Linked DNA regions of Homo sapiens: regions 2 and 3 are each linked to region 1. Evidence: promoter capture Hi-C in human tissues and cell types (Jung and others, 2019). All regions are on one chromosome and are shown on one strand. Each heading gives the region's core, a stretch centred on a gene start or on the middle of the fragment in contact. The rest is flanking DNA. Distances are from core to core; before and after follow the strand shown.

Region 1 (3,863 bases), core at 948-3,447:
CTATCTTTTTTCATGGGTTGCATGTAGAAAATGATAATAACTTATATTAAACCAAGACATTTAAAATCCTGAAATGCAAATCAGATGAAACAGAGAAGGGACTGTTAGTTTGTTTTGCCAAAAGATAGTATGATTCTTTATAGAGGGGAACTTTCCTCACCAGTTAAGGTGGTTTCATTTTGTAAAAAATGCTTTGTAAATTTTTAGGGCCACATAAGCTCAATATACTTTAACAGGGCATGTTTCTAAAATGTGTCTTATTAAAAATGTACCCCAGATTCAATAATTATTTCATGCTTTTGAAAAAAATACTTCATAAGTATAGAAAAGACAAAGAGTGGTAAATACACATATCCTGTTATCTTAAACATGTATGCACTCTCTTCTGGAAGCTTCACCACAAATCTCTGAGTTCTTATTACCACTTTATAATGGAGAAAACTGGGGCTAGCAGAGACTAGAGGACTTGCCCAAACTACTCAGAGACAGAGCAGCTGACCACTAGATTTGAATTTTCCTCATTGCCTTGCAATCATGCCCTGAGACCACCAGCATTAGGTGGTGTTTGTAGGTTTCTTACAGAAGGGTGGTGTTTGTAGATCTCTTGACCAAGAGTCCTATAGTAAGCTAAACTATCATCCTAATTAAAAGGATATGTGGGTTCTATTGTACTAGCATGTATATTAAGATTTATTTGGGGAAAATTTTCAGTATATCTCTTCCTCATCACTAAAGATAACTGTACCATGTCCTCTTGAAGGTATGAATTTATTTTACAAGGGGCATGGAAAATTTGATAACCAAAATAAGGCGTTGCCTCTCCTCTATCTTTCCCATAGTGCTCCCCATTTGGGGGTGAATATTCTTAGGACTTAGCATCATTGTAGAAAATAAGGTAGGCTCTAGGTTTTTTCTTATTTTTTAATGCTATTTGGGATTAAATGGATTTACTAACCTTGAATAATTATTCTCATGTTTCATGGCTCTCTTTGTCTCCTATGTTGATTGTCATTTCCGCAATCTAATAGCATTTCCCATAGAAAAATAAAAATTTACACAACCCTGGCATGAAAGAACAGAGGTCTGTTTATTGCATTTCCATTTCCTGGGTTGCAAAAGCCCAGCACACTTTCAGTTCATCTCTTATAATTCCTATTCAGGCCACTGCTGCTCTCATTACATTTGTAAAACTTCATCTCTCTCCTTTTACTCATCTGAGAGCAGGTGGACCCAGACAGTTCTTTGGAGGCCCAGTGAGTGATTTCTCTTGAGAGAGGCACATCTTTCCAGTCTGCAAAGGAATGAAAATGCAGACAGTCACATAGATCACTTTGAATGGTGCCAAATACATTCCACCAAATGCTACTGGCAATAATTAGAGCATGTCACTGGGAGATGTGGCGATTTTCTTCCAGCATAAGGCTCCAGTCTTACCCTGAGTGCCATGAAACTGACAGGACAGAGGCAGTGTTCTCCATGGAAATAATGTAGACTTCTCATGATCTGAGAAAAGAAGGGGGAGTAGCATTTCTTGACTTTGAAATGTCTGGAGCAAGGTACCCAGGATTAAGTAGGAACCACCTAGAATTTACCATGCCCTTCACTGACTCATACTTACCAGCTATTTCACAAAGTAGGCAAAAGAGTGAATAAAGATAATCATTTTTTAATAAACAGGGTTGTGGTCTCTGGCTGAGGAAAGGTATAACCTGTTGTAGATTACAAAAAGGAAAGCTCTTTGATAAGGACGGAAAGCCCTGAAACCCAGCATGAGAAGTCTGTTCCTCAGGAGGCAATAACATCCCAAAGTCTGCTAGGATTTTAGGTTCAAGTGCAAGACTGTCTTTCATACAAACAGGACGAGAAAGTCACAGCAAAGGATCGAGCAAGCCATGGGCAAAGCAGTTGGAAAAAAATGAATAGAAAAGAAAAATAAGAAACCAGGGAAAGCTGCAGAATGGCGAGGAAAGGCAGAGACGCCTAGGAAGGATAAGACGGGAGGAGGGGGTTGGGGAGGGAGGGGAGAGCGGAGAGAGCTGAGCACGGACGTCAGGAACAAAAGCTCCAGCGGAGTCTGGCGGAGGCACTAAGGGAGCACGGGGTGTTTTGAATAATTATTAAAATTAGCATGTGTCTGCGCCATCCTGTGGGTGTGGCGCAGAGAGGAGTGTAAACTCTAGCGGGGCTAGAGCAAACATTGGATTAGCGGCAGCAGCCTGCCAGCCTGCCCGAGGAGTGCTGGGACCAGCGCGCTGCACGCCGACTGGCACGATGGCCTCGTCTCAGGGGAAAAACGAGCTGAAATTAGCCGACTGGATGGCAACTCTGCCGGAGAGCATGCACAGCATCCCCCTCACCAATTTAGCCATTCCAGGTAGGCGCGCAGGGGCTGCGGGCTAGGCGCTCGGCGCCCGCTCCACCTGCCCCGCCCTGCTTTATCTGCCACTAAGTGGTAACTTGCCACGATGCCCGCGGGAGGGAAACTCGTCTTCCAGGGTGGGTCTCAGGCCAGGCGAGCGCGTGCCGGGTAGCCTTGGGCTTCCTGGCGTTTTCCAAACCCCTAAGGACCGAGGCGCTAGAGTCAAGGTGACTGCTTTTCTCCTGGGCTTTTGAAGCAGGTTGTATGCGGAGGACTGGGGCAGAGGAGAAGCTGGGCTCCAGGATGGTGCCTCGTGACCCCCTCCTATGGTTTCTCCTGCAGATTTGGGGAAGTGGGAGAAATCTCTGGGTCTGCGGGGTGACCGTGTGTGAAGAACGCGAGCTAGTGTCAGGGGCTCGCCTTCGGTGCAAGGACCTGAGTCTATCCCTGGCATGGAATTGGGCGGATTTGATAGATTCTCGGCTACAGTCATTAATATTCGTCCCCAATCTCCTTTAAAAAGACAAAGCGCTTCCCGAAGAGTGATGAAAGTTCAGGGACCAGAGGCGGCGTGATAGCTGCCCTTGAAAAGGAGCCCAAGGGGGCGACGGGCAGAGGGCACCATTTCGTATCGGTTTGGACCCCGGGGGACCTGGCCGAGTGGCCGCTGTCTCGAGTCTGGTCCAAGTGCGTGTTGGCAACACACTTCGCCCAGGTCAAAAAAGCAAACCCTTGCGGACCGTATGTTTACTGCTCGGGACAGAAGCTGGGCAGGGGAACCTGCGTGACCTGAGCGGAGGGGTGGGATTAATAGGCAAATAGTACGGAAAAGGTGACTGAGAATGTGTCCAGACAGTCTAGAAGGAAAGAAGCGTGGACAAAGCGAGGAAGAGACCTGAGGGATCAAGAAGCTTCAGCTTGATGTGTGCGACTTGGACCAGAGACTGGGCAGGTTTCTAGGGTGGCAGCTCCTAACAACCCCCTAGATCAGGTATCCAGGAGTGAGGGTCGTTTCAGGACAGTTTACAACAATGACAGCTGGGACACGGCCATACTTTATTGTCAATTTGGCTATGCAGTTGGGCTGGGGGAGCACACACTTGATCTTTTCAGAGCTGGGCTGGAGGGCAAATTACTCATGAACAGTTCACTTCTGGCCCTGAGCTGAGCTGGGCTATTAAACTCAACGTTATGGTCTACCTCCTCTTGATCTGCCCCATCCAGCGCCCCCTCTCAGCTGTTGGAGGAAAACATAATAAAGAAAAAAACAACAAAAACAAAAACAAAAGAAGGGTTATTTTGAAAATCACTAGATGCTCCAACCAAGAGTGCTGCCATTGATCAGTCCCTCAAATCAATGGTTGTTAGTCAAGTGGATGTTTGGCAGCAATGGCAGGCACAGGCTACTACAAGTGCTATCCACAGAAGGGGCTGTCTCCTTTCGTCCTTCTTCAACAGATAGCTTGCTACCGGCCAGGAATCTCCAAGGAAAAGAACCAACCCC
Region 2 (3,863 bases), core at 693-3,192, 90 kb before region 1:
TCTTACTGATTCTGAAAAATCCTTTAACATAATCTATATATATATACGTATATGTGTATACATATATAACATTTTTTTTCTTTTTTTTTTTTTTCGAGACGGAGTCTCCCTCTGTCGCCCAGGCTGGAGTGCAGTGGCGTGATCTCAGCTCACTGCAAGCTCTGCCTCCCGGGTTCACGCCATTCTCCTGCCTCAGCCTCCCGAGTAGCTAGGACTACAGGCGCCCACCACCACGTCCTGCTAATTTTTTGTATTTTTAGTAGAGATAGGGTTTCACCATGTTAGCCAGGATGATCTCGATCTCCTGACCTCATGATCCGCCCGCCTCCCAAAGTGCTGGGATTACAGGCGTGAGCCACTGCGCCCGGCCGATCTATTTATATATTTTGTTTGCCTCATTCCCTCTCTCTCTTTCAATGTGTGTATGCATACATGCATGTACATATGTATGTATATGTATTTATATATACAGTTGTCCTTCCATATTCATGGATTCTGCATCCATGGATTTCATAAACCAAAGATTGAAAATATTTTTCTAAAAACAGTGCATCTGTGCTAAACATGTATGGACTTCTTTTCTTGCCATTATTCCCTAAAGAGTATAACAATGATTTAGACAGCATTTACAGTATTTTAGGTATTATAAATAATTTAGTGATTTAAAGTATACAAAAGAATGTGTGTAGGTTATATGCAAACACCACAGCATTTTGTAACAGGGACTTAAAGATTTCTAGATTTTAGTATCCACAAGAGGTCCTGGAGCCAATCCTCCACAGATGGTGAGGATGAACTGTGTATGTAAAATATGTGCGTTTTTATGTATATATATTACATTTTTTGGTGGTTCTGTTTGGATAATTTCTATTGACTTATCTGAGTTTACTGATCTTTTCTTCTGCTCTGTTATGTCTGCCATTGACCCTATTATATGAATTCTTCATAGGGTATATTATACTCTCAGTTCCAGAAATTTCCCTTTGTTTACTTCTTAATTTTTTTATTTCTCCGCTGAGATTCATTATCTTTTTTACTCATGGTATCTACCTTTTAATCTTATTTCTGCAACATATTTATAATAGGTATTTTTAAGTTCTTGTTTTCTAATTCTTGCACCTGGATTTTCTGTGAGTCTACTTCACTGAACAGTTTTTTTCTTCTGCTGGATGGTATATTCCTACTTTGGCTTATATGAAAATTATTTTGATATGTTAGATATTGTGTATAAAAAAGTAGAGATTGAAATAAATAGTATTTAGCTCCAGAAAGTGTACAATGTTTCATCTGTCAGGGGTTAGGAGCTGATTTCTTCTCATTATGAATTAACCTAGGTCAGGATTGGGCTGTATTTAATTTCAGTTCGCCACCAGTTACAAATGCCCTCAGAGCAGATTTAGGTTACTTCTTCCAGCAAGGCTTGAGTTTTAGGCACTTTGAGACTATACTTACTCAACTTTTCTGCCCAGCCTGCAGTATCCTGTACCATGGAATATAGCCAGTGGTGTGCTGGTAAATGCTTAATGAACTGTCCTAAAAAGAAAGTCTAATTTGCAGCATCTGCTGATGTCTGTAGTATGAATGCTGCCACCATGTGCAGTTTCAGTCTACTGACATGTTACTGAATGCAGACTCAGGAAGAGACATACATAATTGGTTCTCATGCACTGGTACGGGCTCCATCAATCACTGGATATTCCTTTTTGCTTAACAGCTCCTGCAAGCAGCCACACACTCAGTAAAGAAAGAAATCCGTTGGGGAAACAATGGGCAAGGTGAGCTAGTTCTGCCTGGGGCTTCTTCACTGTCTCATCTATAGCATATCCCACAGGGTTATTAAATTTTAGCTGGTTTCTTCAGGTTGGGGCAAATTCTCCTGGTGTGTGGTGGGCTTACTTCTCAGTGCCCTGTGACCCCAAGAAATGAAAGAACCTTCCAGACTGTGCTCACATAGGGATTGTCCCTCTCTGAGTTTTGGTCATTGAGGTGTCTGTGCATCTTTATCTCTCTGATGCATTTTTAAAAATATGATTTATAGTTTATTCAGTATTTTCTTAAATTTCTATATTATAGCCAGATTATTTCTTGTTGATGATGACAAACAATATGTCAGAAATTTTCAGCAAATTGGTCTAATGTTTTTCTGTTTATAGTAATTAAAGGAGGTTATATATGGTTTTGACATTCAATACAAAGTGAACATTTAATTTTTCATTCATTAATTCACTATTTATTCATTTTCCAATATATATTGATTAGACCTTGGATCTATATACTCATTATTAGTAAATGTGTAGAATTTAGTCACGAATTCTTTATTTCACAACTAAGCTTAAACATACCATGTAGTGAAACAAAATAACCTAACTGAAAGGTAGCATAGTAAGGCATTCTTGTTTAAAATAAATAAAGAAATAAAAATGTATACATGTACACAGTTTGAAGATAAAAATGGTTGTTTACCATACAAGGTCTTGTATGAAAAACAGTAGATGCCACTGTTACCCTGACTTCCTGCTGCTCAGAGACAATTAAACTTTCTTTTTTTTTTTTTTTATTATTATTATACTCTAAGTTTTAGGGTACATGTGCACATTGTGCAGGTTAGTTACATATGTATACATGTGCCATGCTGGTGCGCTGCACCCACTAATGTGTCATCTAGCATTAGGTATATCTCCCAATGCTATCCCTCCCCCCTCCCCCGACCCCACCACAGTCCCCAGAGTGTGATATTCCCCTTCCTGTGTCCATGTGATCTCATTGTTCAATTCCCACCTATGAGTGAGAACATGCGGTGTTTGGTTTTTTGTTCTTGCGATAGTTTACTGAGAATGATGGTTTCCAATTTCATCCATGTCCCTACAAAGGATATGAACTCATCATTTTTTATGGCTGCATAGTATTCCATGGTGTATATGTGCCACATTTTCTTAATCCAGTCTATCATTGTTGGACATTTGGGTTGGTTCCAAGTCTTTGCTATTGTGAATAGTGCCGCAATAAACATACGTGTGCATGTGTCTTTATAGCAGCATGATTTACAGTCATTTGGGTATATACCCAGTAATGGGATGGCTGGGTCAAATGGTATTTCTAGTTCTAGATCCCTGAGGAATCGCCACACTGACTTCCACAATGGTCGAACTAGTTTACAGTCCCACCAACAGTGTAAAAGTGTTCCTATTTCTCCGCATCCTCTCCAGCACCTGTTGTTTCTGATCATTATTTATTTATTGTAATTTCTCTAAAGAACATGCTTTATATTGGTACTTCTTGGTTTTCCACTTTTAGAATTTATCTATTATCTTCCCACTCGGAAGATTTTCTCTTTTCTATTGTTCTGTTTACTACATGTACTAATTTCTTGTGTTTTTCTGAGTAACCGTCTTTAAAAAAAATCCAGTCTCTTTGTCTTTTAAGGAGAGTTTAGTGTATTTATATTTACTATGATAACAAATATATTTGATTTATTTATATCATTTTATTTTGTTCTTTTATCGTTCTACATTTTCTGTTTCTCTGCCCTCCCTCATTTCTTGCATCTTTTTGGATTAGATATTTCGTTTTTCTCATGATGCTTTCCACCTCCTCTGCTAGTTTGAACATTATTAAATCTGTGGCAGAGACAATGCTGTGTTCAAGTCCTATCTTACATTCCTCTTTCTGGGTGCCCAGAAACACTGTTTCTTTATCTCTCTTATAGTTATATTGGGAAGTTTCAGGCCCATAAACTGGCAAATAAAATTGTTGTCTACTTTCTAGAAGTTGCTCTAGGTATTTTAGAACAAATAATTTAACAAGTCTGGAATTAATAGCTCTTGCCACCTCAAAAATAATTCAGTAATCTTTGACTGTTCTAA
Region 3 (3,863 bases), core at 343-2,842, 88 kb after region 1:
GGATTACAGGCGTGAGCCACCGCGCCCAGCCAGAAATTCACAACCTTTTATGTATATATTAGAAAAGAAAAATATATAAAGTAATAATATAATCATCTAACCCAAAAGTTAGAAAAATAAAAAGGAAATTAAACCCATATATTGGCTATTGTGAATAGTTGCTGGGGGCTGGGGGAAGGGGAATGGAGAGATGTTGGTCAAAGGGTAGAAAGTTTGAATTTTGCAAGACAAATAATTTCTGGAGATCTAATGTATAGCAGTGTGACTATAGTTAACATACTATATTGTATATTTGAAAAGTGCTTGAAGAGTTGGTCTTAAGTATTCTCACAAAACACATACAAAAGAAAGATAATGGTAACTATGTGAGGTGATGGGTATTTTAATTAGTTTGTGATTATTTCACAATGTATCAAAACATCAAGTTGTACACCTTAAATATATACAGTTTTTATTTTTCAAATATATCTCAACAAAGGTAGGGAAAGATCAAAACTCAATAAAGGAGAAAAAAAATGATGAGAGCAAAAATGGATCCAGGCTGGTCTCGAACTCCTGACCTCAGGTGATCCGTCCGCCTCGGCCTCCCAAAGTGCTGGGATTACAGGCGTGATCCACCACGCCCGGCCAGAAATTCACAACCTTTTATGTATATATTAGAAAAGAAAAATATATAAAGTAATAATATAATCATCTGATACAAATCAAATCAGAAAATATGGAGTCAACAAAATTAAAATCTATTTCTTCTAATAAAATAGACTAATCTGTGGAAAAATTGATGAAAAAAGGAGAATATAAAAATAATCATTCTAGAAATGAAGGCCATAACTATTGATGCAGCAGAATTTTATGAGAATTCCATGAACTACTTTGTGCCAATATACTTGAAAAACTTAATATTTTTAAAAAATAGAACTTAACTGAAAATGACTCAACTAGAAGCAGAAAATTCAAAAGCCTTATAATAATTAAGCATAAAAAAACTTTATTCTAACCACAAAACACAGCATTTAGACCAAAGTATATTTCCAGCATAATCTACCAAACCATCAAAGAACATATAACCCATTTTTCATATAAACTGTTCTGGGAGAAGATAAAAATAAAATAATAAATCAAAGTCAGATAGGGCTTCTGCGAAGAATGCAAGAATAGTTTAAAATTAGAATATCTATTAATGTTACCATATTAACAGATAAAAAAAGAAAAAATAATTTGATCACCTCACAAATATAGAAAAGGCATTTGATAATATTCAACACCCATTCATAATTTTTTTTAAAAAATTAATACTTTTTAGAAAATTAAGAATAGAAGAGAGATTCCTTAAGCTGATAAAGTATATCTATCAACTACCTAACCTAGTATTCTATTTCACAATGAAAAGGACTCTCTAAATTCACAAAGAAGGCAAAGATGCCTGTTTTTATTACTGCTATTTAGCACTGGGTTGGAGGACCAGCTAGTACAGTATCAAAAAAAGCAAAAGAAAAACACACATACTGGAAAAAAATGCCACTTTTATAGCAAACGAAGTAAAAGATACCTGGAAATAAATCTGACAAAAGGAGCATAGGAACTTTTTAGATAAATGTGTAAAACTTTATTGAAGACTCTTTAAAAGAAGATCTGAGGAAATGAAGAGAAATATAATGTTGGAAGGTGGGAGGAGTCAATATCATAAAGATGACAATTGTCTCGCAATTTTTCTATCAATTAATGCAATCCTAACAAATTTTTCAATTTTTTAATATATCTGATTAATATAGTCTAAAATTCAAATGAAAGAATGAAACTCCAAGATTGGCCAAGGCAATTTGGACTAAGGTAGTAAAAAGGAAGGATGAGACCCATCCTACCCAGATATGAAAAGATGGTGGTTGATAAATTTCCCAAGGCTACAGAGCCTTGTAAAAGTCAAAGGTAAGATTAAACCCTGGTTCATATTGCTGCCAAGTCCACATTCTTACCTCCACATTATGCTCCTCAAGGAGATTTCAGTCATGTTTTGAAGCCATTTCCAGGACTGATAAAACGGAGAAGGCGTATGTGAAAAAACAGTCAGGGATAAGGAAGTTATTTATAGGAAAGAGCAAGCTGATTAATTTGGCTGTAGGTGAGTAATAATTCAGAAATATGGAGTTCCAATAGCCCTTTACAATAATATATACTTTCTATTGTCTATAAAGACTAAGAATAAAGATAAAAATACAGTAAGTGTGTTTAAATTAATACATATGTAAGTAACTCTTAAAGGTAGGTTGATATCTTCCTATGCATTAGCAATATATATATATATATGGAAATACCTAGGTTGTTTATATTTCTGAGTGATATCGAGAATTATAGTAAATATATGAAGAAAAGCATGTTGTTACATAATGCTTGTTTTATTAACGGGTAACCAGGACTTGGAATCTCACTGCTTTGTCACCTAAAAAAAGTTTTTTAGCACACCTGAGTTGACTTATGTTTGAATATTCTTTCAAATCAGCTGAAATTAAAATGTGCGTATATTTAAGCTTTCCATTCATCTAAATTCTACCAAAGAGCTTTTTTGTTTGTTTGTTTGTTTTGTTTTGTTTTTTTGAGAAGGAGTCTCGCTCTTTCGCCCAGGCCTGACTGCAGTAGCGCAATCTCGGCTCACTGCAAGCTTCGCCTCTCGGGTTCACGCCATTCTCCTGCCTCAGCCTCCCGAGTAGCTGGGACTACAGGCCCCCGCCACCGCGCCCGGTTAATTTTTTGTATTTTTAGTAGAGACGGGGTTTCACCGTGTTAGCCAGGATGGTCTCAATATCCTGACCTTGTGATCAGCCCGCCTCGGCCTCCCAAAGTGCTGGGATTACAGGCGTGAGCCACCGCGCCCAGCTCCAAAGAGTATTTTTTAAGGATCTGCTAAACATCTAACGGAATAATACTCTATAGGCTATTATAAGAAATATAATTCATGGACCCTACCTACCCTCAAATTACTTATATATTAGAGCAATATGGTCCAGAAGACAATTAAAAAAGAATTAGGGATTGAATAATGTATAGTTGACAATAAATTTTATAAAACTGTTGCACAAACAGAAATATGACTCAGTGAGAATTTAATACACTCTGTTTTGATGTTTGGATATTATGCCTAATATTATCCTAAAATATGCCTAACATTTTATATTAGGCATATCTTTCCATTTTTATGTTACCAGAAAATAACTTCTTTAGGGCTTGAGAGATCAGATATTATCACTGGAATGATGTTCCCTTTACCTTAGGAGAGTAAAAGGATATCAGGGATCTACTTGTGGGTAAGATTCCACTGAAAGAATGCAGGAAATGCAGGGGAAAAGTATCCCTGAGTATTAATAAATAGTAGCATTTTATTATCTGTAGCCTCACATAATGGAGTTATATGGTCACATGATTGCAGAGAGAAGCTGCCCAGAATTAGCGTAGTGACGGCAACCAAGAACTTGCAGACAATGCAAAGGTGATGTGACAAAGTTAGGGTTGGAGGAAAGACTAAAAATGCTGACACAACGCCATTTTGTATCTGTGTTTCATGTCCTGGCTTATTGTATACAATTATCCTGCCATGCAAAGATAAATTCTCTCTGCAAGCATTGGAGGTGCCAGTCACTTGTCACTGAGAAGCAGAAGAAATTAAGACTGCTAAGCATGGCAGATTTGGCAGAAGCCCAGTCTGAGAGATGTAACATGTTTTCTAGCTAAGAGGGGAAGGGGTTTGGAGGTAGACCCTGACAGTTTGATTCCTTTGCATCTTTCATGTCACTGTTACATTCCTAAAAGAAAACGTGATTATTATAATCTTGTTTTATGCAGCATCTAAAGTTGGTTGTTTTGGAGGGATG

What was found. Contacts are between HindIII fragments. The study calls those that stand out against the background at their distance.
Region 2: a fragment that was not itself captured here is called in contact with the fragment with the promoter of PLCXD3 in region 1 in 5 of the 25 tissues and cell types used here (aorta, bladder, heart right ventricle and 2 more).
Region 3: a contact is called between a fragment that was not itself captured here and the fragment with the promoter of PLCXD3 in region 1, in 2 of the 25 tissues and cell types used here (adrenal gland and neural progenitor cells).

Annotation. Positions count from the first base shown.
Region 1 is chr5:41,508,935-41,512,797 of GRCh38, reverse strand. PLCXD3 (phosphatidylinositol specific phospholipase C X domain containing 3) reads left to right here and starts at 2,197. Exons shown (of 3, transcript NM_001005473.3): 1 at 2,197-2,374. The coding sequence starts at 2,272. RefSeq lists an enhancer at 1,843-2,671. The HindIII fragment of the contact is 4,804 bases long and covers 1-3,863 here.
Region 2 is chr5:41,598,701-41,602,563 of GRCh38, reverse strand. No RefSeq gene overlaps it. Among named protein-coding and RNA genes, the nearest start is that of PLCXD3, 90 kb to the right of the region's middle. The HindIII fragment of the contact is 7,979 bases long and covers 1-3,863 here.
Region 3 is chr5:41,420,430-41,424,292 of GRCh38, reverse strand. The region is part of intron 1 of PLCXD3 (phosphatidylinositol specific phospholipase C X domain containing 3); the gene reads left to right. Among named protein-coding and RNA genes, the nearest start is that of PLCXD3, 88 kb to the left of the region's middle. The HindIII fragment of the contact is 4,490 bases long and covers 1-3,837 here.